Regions from separate parts of the Homo sapiens genome. Here region 1 is linked to region 2. Evidence: promoter capture Hi-C in human tissues and cell types (Jung and others, 2019). All regions are on one chromosome and are shown on one strand. Each heading gives the region's core, a stretch centred on a gene start or on the middle of the fragment in contact. The rest is flanking DNA. Distances are from core to core; before and after follow the strand shown.

Region 1 (2,948 bases), core at 13-2,512, 110 kb after region 2:
TGAGGATATTATATAGGTATCATATAACAAGAGGAAAATCAGATTTCCAAAAGATTTTTATTGACAAAATTTAAAATTTGATTTATGAACACTGAAATTTGAATTTTATGTAATTTCAAATAACAAAATATCATTCTTCTTTTGATTTTTTTCTTCTCAACCACTTAAAACCATTCTCAGTTTGTGGGCCATACAAAAATAGGTGACAGGTCAGATTTGGCTCACAGGCCATAGCTTGCCAATCCCTGTTCTACGACTTAAATAAAAAACAGATTTCCAGTGTCAGGCATGATGATTATAGACCACGATCTCTGAACACAGTGCAACTGGGTTAGAAGTTAATAACGACGAGATAAGAGATCCCTGTCTGTTTTTTGTTTTGTTTTGTTTTCTGACCGAGTTTCATTCTTGTTGCCTAGGCTGGAGTGCAATGGCGCCATCTCGGCTCACTGCAATCCTTGCCTCCCGGGTTCAAGCGATTCTCCTGTCTCAGCCTCCAGAGTAGCTGGGATTACAGGCACCCGCCACTACACCTGGCTAATTTTTGTTTTTTTTTAGTAGAGACGAGGTTTCACCATGTTGGCCAGGTGGGTCTCAAACTCCTGACCTCAGGTGATCCACCTTCCACATCCTCCCAAAGTGCTGGGACTACAGGCGTGAGCCACCTCGCCCGGCCTATTTAGGCATTTTAAAATATATTGTTAAATAGCTCATGGTTTACAGAATATGTTTAATAGACATTTATAAAATCCTAGATCTAAATTATAATGAAAACATGTCAACAAAGCGTCGAACTCTGTAAAATATTTGAAGAGATTTATTCTGAGCCAAACATGAGTGACCATGGCCCATGACACAGCCCTCAGGAAGTCCTGAGAACATGTGCCCAAAGTGGTCGGGCCGCAGTTTGGTTTTTATACACTTTGGAGAGGCGTGAGACATTAATCAAATACATTTAAGAAATGCATTGGTGGCCGGGCGCGGTGGCTCACGCCTGTAATCCCAGCACTTTGGGAGGCTGAGGTGGGCGGATCACGAGGTCAAGAGATCAAGACCATCCTGGCTAACACGGTGAAACCCTGTGTCTACTAAAAATACAAAAAAATTAGCCAGGCGTGGTGGCACGCGCCTGTAGTCCCAGCTACTCGGGAGGCTGAGGCAGGAGAATGGCGTGAACCCGGGAGGCGGAGCTTGCAGTGAGCCGAGATCGCGCCACTGCACTCCAGCCTGGGCCACAGAGCGGGGCTCCGTCTCAAAAAAAAAAAAAGAAATACATTGGTTTGGTCCAGAAAGGCAGAACAACTCAAAGGGGTCCGGGAGGTTCCAGGCTATGGTGAATTTAAATATTTTCTAGTTGACAATTGGTTGAGTTTGTCTGAAGACCCGGGATTGATAGAAAGATAATGTTCAGGTTAAAATAAAATTTTGTGCAGCCCAAAGTTCTTTTGCAGTCTTATAGTGGCTGTCCTTAGAGACAGTAGGATGACAAATGTTTCCTATTCAGATTTTAGGTAGTCTCTTTAGAATTGGGAGGGTCTGGAATCAAAAGATCTAGCGATGTTAATAGAGATTCTTTACAGATGCAAATTTTTCCCCACAAAGAACAGCTTTGTAGGGCCATTTCAAAATATGGCAAAGAAGCACGTTTTGGGGTAAAATATTTTTATTTTCTTGTCTTGTAATGTTACGCCAGAGTGAGGTTGGAAAGTAAATCATGATATATAGTGTTAAATAAAACCCAACCTATGTGATGAGAGTTTATGATTTGTAGGGCATGACTCCCCAGACCCCTTAGATAGGAATTTGGGCAAGGTAAAAGAATAAGAATTTAGTCCTTCATTGTATACCGGAATTTGTGAGATATGATTAAAGTGGTGCTGTGAGAGAAATGTATATCCTTAATTACTTATATTAGCAATAAAACTGTGATCATTGGTCAGATAGGTATTTATCTTAAAATATTATTAATTGAAAAGGAGAGTAAATCCAATGAAAGAAAAAGTAAGAAATAATAAAAATGAAAGTGAAAATTAGTACAATAGGGAAAAATGATAAGGTAGAGATCAACAAATCCAAAAATTAGTTCTTTGGAAACAAATCAACAAAATAGACAGATGTCTTGCAAAACTGATCAAGAGAAGAACACAGAAATAAACAATTTTATGAATGAAAAATTGGGCATAGCTATAAATAGAGATTACAAGGTAACCAAACGTAAATTATAAGATGCAGGTAGTTCAATGGGGGAAAGGTAAATCTTTTCAACAAATGGTGCTGAAACAACTGAATATCTGTATTTTTTAAAAAGAAAACCTTGATTCTTACCTCACACCGTGCATAAAAATTAACTCTAGATGAATCAGAGATAAGTGATACGGCTCCAGTGAGTGGAGGAACACCAGGGTTCTTAATTCTCAGGCCAGTTTAGACAAAACACGGACACATGTGGAGCGGTTTTAAGGAGCGGAGAGTTTAATAGACAAGAAGGAAGCGGAAGGCAGAAGGAAGAGGCTCCCCCATACAGAGATAGAGGGAGAGGAGGCTCCAAAGCCGAAAGAGGAGGTCCCCAAGTGCGGTGGATACCAGCCAGGTCTATATGCAGAGGCTGAAGGAGGCGATGTCAGATTTGCATAGGGCTCAGGGGATTGGTTTGACCAGGCATGTGATTCACCATGTAGCCTGCGGAAAACGCTGGCCCTCCCACCCCAGCCTTTAAATATGCAAATGCAGGACGCCAAGGATGTTCCACACACGTGGGGATATGTGGGGGCGGCCATGTTGCCAGGAACACCTGGGACAAGGGCCGGAAGGCGCCCGAATCGCCATGTTGGATGGACCCAGTTTCTAATGGTCTGCATTTGCATATCAAAGGTTGCTAGCCTGGCTCTAAGAAACTTACAGGCTCACGCCTGTAATCCAAGCTCTCAGGGAGGCAGAGGCCGGAGGAT
Region 2 (3,142 bases), core at 436-2,935:
GTATAATACATGCTTTTTCCTGGGACTACCATGGTGCTTCAGTAGTCCACAGAAGTACTTTATGTGTACCTACTATTTTGGGACACAAGGGTATTAAAAACCATGTACTCAAGGGCTGATATTTAATAAAATTAATAATTTTTACTGCCGTATCAAAGATGTTCTTAAGTGAGGCTGGCTTTTTTTTTCTTTCTTTTTTTTAATCTATGACTACTGGTGCAGTTGGTACCTCTACCTTGATTAGTGTTAAAGAGCTTGCAGTTTGACCCACTGTTGATTTTGCACCATGGGTACAAATGTGAACACGGAAGAAGGCAAATTATGTCCTAGTATTATGATGAAAGTAGAGTCTTTTGCTGGGACTTGATGCTACAGGCCAGTAGTTCTCAAAGCCTGGTTCCCTGCCCAGCAGCATTAGCATCTCTTGGGAGCTTATTAGAAATGCGAACACCTGGGCCCTTCCCTTCCCTTTCAGTGTCCAGTTCCTGTGGGATGGGGCTGGGCCGCTTCAGCTGCCCCAGGAGACTGAGAGAGTCTGCTGAATTTGAGAAAGTCCACTCTGCTTTCTGGAAGGACTGGCGGGGCGGGAGGGCAGGGAGGATGAGTAAGTTAGGGACAGAGTGTTCTCGTGTTTGTAGAGGATGTGATGCAGCCTGGACTTCAGGCAGTAGGAAGAAGATGGAATGGATTTGCTAGAGACAGATTCTCTAGAACTTTATTGCTGGTAGACCACATAAAAGCTTAGAAAACAGCTGCGCTTTGCTCCGAGACCTGCCAGCCATCAGGGACGAATGAGTTTTAAAGGCCCTTACTGCTTTGTGTCTTGAGGGAATATCTTTTATTAATCGTGAAAAAATCAATCCAGATAACTTGCCTGAGTCATTTCAGTCTCCTTTTTGAGGATGCCTGCTTAAACAGCGACCATGGTCTCTGGAGGGGTAGAGTCTCACATTCGGAGTTCAGTCTCTTAGAAAGTACAGTTCAGTGTGGAAGAATGGCAGTTATGATTTCATTCAGATGTGCCCAGCTGCTGACAAATTGAATACAACGATCAGTGGCAGGCAGAACTCTCATTTGTTGTGTGTTGTCTTGAGTCTGGTGAGGTGTATCCTTTCACTATTGGATTTTACCATTCAGTGCAGTCAGTAGCTCCATTTGATGTAAGTGTAAAGATGGGTCTCTCATTTCAGTTTCAGCAATTATTCTTAAAACCTTTATTTTCCAGTGTTTTAAAGTTTTTAAATTTTATATCTTTTTTTTTTTTTAAACAGATTTGTAAGACTCCAGGGCCTCCCAGCCGTGAATAATCTGATGGTTCCTGAAATGACTGGGGAAGCAGACGCTTCGTATGGCAGTTGAAGAGTGTGTGTCTATGTGCATTTAAAACCTTCTTTCTGTACTTACACATTCACACGGGAAGACAGGCTCATTCTTGTGCACACTTGAGAGTTTTACAACTGATGAAAATTAATTTAAGAATCAGATGGAGCAACTTGACACCAGTGGGCTCAGGAGCCCGGGGAGAAAAATACATCACTAATGGCCAGTTTTCCATATGGTCTGCACGGGTAAAGAAAGTCTGCAAAAAGAAGAAAAAAAAATTTGCGCAGATTAAACCACAAAAATATTCTCCAGTTTAAAGAAGGAACTAAGTGAGAAGGTGACTGAGAAAGAAGTGTGATTTCAAACATTGCAGCGGCTCACACAGTGTTTGTTGCACTTTATTTTTCAGTGGGTTTGGTGATTTGGACGGATTAAAATTCTAGACTGAAAAGTAACTCCTACTGTGGTTATGGCTAGAGGAAAGCAAGTTCAAGTATGATGGGACAAGTTTGAATAATGAACTGATTCCTTTGCCTATCTTAATTAACTGTATTTGAGAAATTTTAATTTATTATTCCCCCCCTTTTTTCCTGCATCTATAGGATAATATTGTAAAATAGCAATTGAAACCAATAATTATTAAATAAATATCAAGGAAAATCCAAGCAAAGCTTTCTTTTTGTTGGACTAGTGGTGTGGTGTTTGGAGACAGTCTCTGAATGTGAACAGGAAAGCACCCATCAGCAAAACACTATCACTCTCTAGGGAGACAGCTGGGGGAATCTGACTCTGGCTTCTGCTTTTGTTTTAAGGGATTAACTTCCCTGTCAAGTCCAAGAAGACTTGCGTATGAGAAGATTACCTGATGGACTTAATTCTAAGATTAGCTTTTTTCATCAAGATGGAAAAAGATCTTTAGGAGCAGAAAAGGGGAGTGCTAACTGGGGGAGCGAGAAGGGAGACGAGCAAAAGAAACAAAATCTTGCCACGTGGCTCTGTTTTGTCAGCAAGAGGATTTAAGACTCACCCAGGGCAAACACTGGGACCACTGTAAGAGCGCTGGAACATTCTGCCTCTTGAGTGAAGGGGCCTTCTTTCTAGCCTCTATGGCACTGAGGGGTGCGCCGGCTGGTGGAGGAGCAGTCCGATGGAGCCCTGCGTTCCCCGGGGACACAGGGCCAAGCTTTGAGGTGGAAAGTTTCTGGTTCTGAAACAACAAGGAGAGAGTCTGTTTTTCTTCCTAAAATTTGGACTCTTGTCTGCACAAACTCTGGTCTGTTTTGCACGGTTTGTGTGCCTTTTTTTCCCTTTATGCAATCTTTTTCAGCTTTAGCAGCAGAAATTTGTCTAGTTCAGGAAACATGCTAGAGGGTGGCTTCAGAAGGAAGATGATCCTGTGTATTCTGTCTCTGCATCCGAACTTTTGAAGAGAAAAATTCGAGCTAGAGGGATTCTTAAAGCCTTAAGTTACTTGAAATCTATGTATTTGCAACCCTTTGTCTCTGGAATCATATTACACTAAACTGGAATCTCAGGCTGAATGAGAATAACCAAGTGGAGTAAAAAGAAGAAAACCGTTTCTTGATCACCACTTAATTAACGATGCTCTTTCTCCAAAGGATCAGCACGTTCTTCCTCTGAGAACTTGAAAATACAAATGGACCCCATGTTTTTTTAAGCATTACCTTTTCTTAGAAGACTGCCATCATCTTTTATAGAGGAATTTTTTCACTATGCATTCGGTGGATCTTTATAAAATACTGACCTTCTAATTAGATTCAGGTCAGTCTTAATTAAAGGGGGAAAAAAGCAACGCAAG

Evidence for each region. Contacts are between HindIII fragments. The study calls those that stand out against the background at their distance.
Region 1: a contact is called between a fragment that was not itself captured here and the fragment with the promoter of TULP4 in region 2, in 4 of the 25 tissues and cell types used here (dorsolateral prefrontal cortex, hippocampus, mesenchymal stem cells and 1 more).

The regions. Positions count from the first base shown.
Region 1 is chr6:158,420,108-158,423,055 of GRCh38, forward strand. The region is part of intron 2 of TULP4 (TUB like protein 4); the gene reads left to right. Among named protein-coding and RNA genes, the nearest start is that of SNORA116, 99 kb to the left of the region's middle. The HindIII fragment of the contact is 7,401 bases long and covers 1-2,948 here.
Region 2 is chr6:158,310,780-158,313,921 of GRCh38, forward strand. TULP4 (TUB like protein 4) reads left to right here and starts at 1,686. Exons shown (of 14, transcript NM_020245.5): 1 at 1,686-3,142. The HindIII fragment of the contact is 2,154 bases long and covers 97-2,250 here.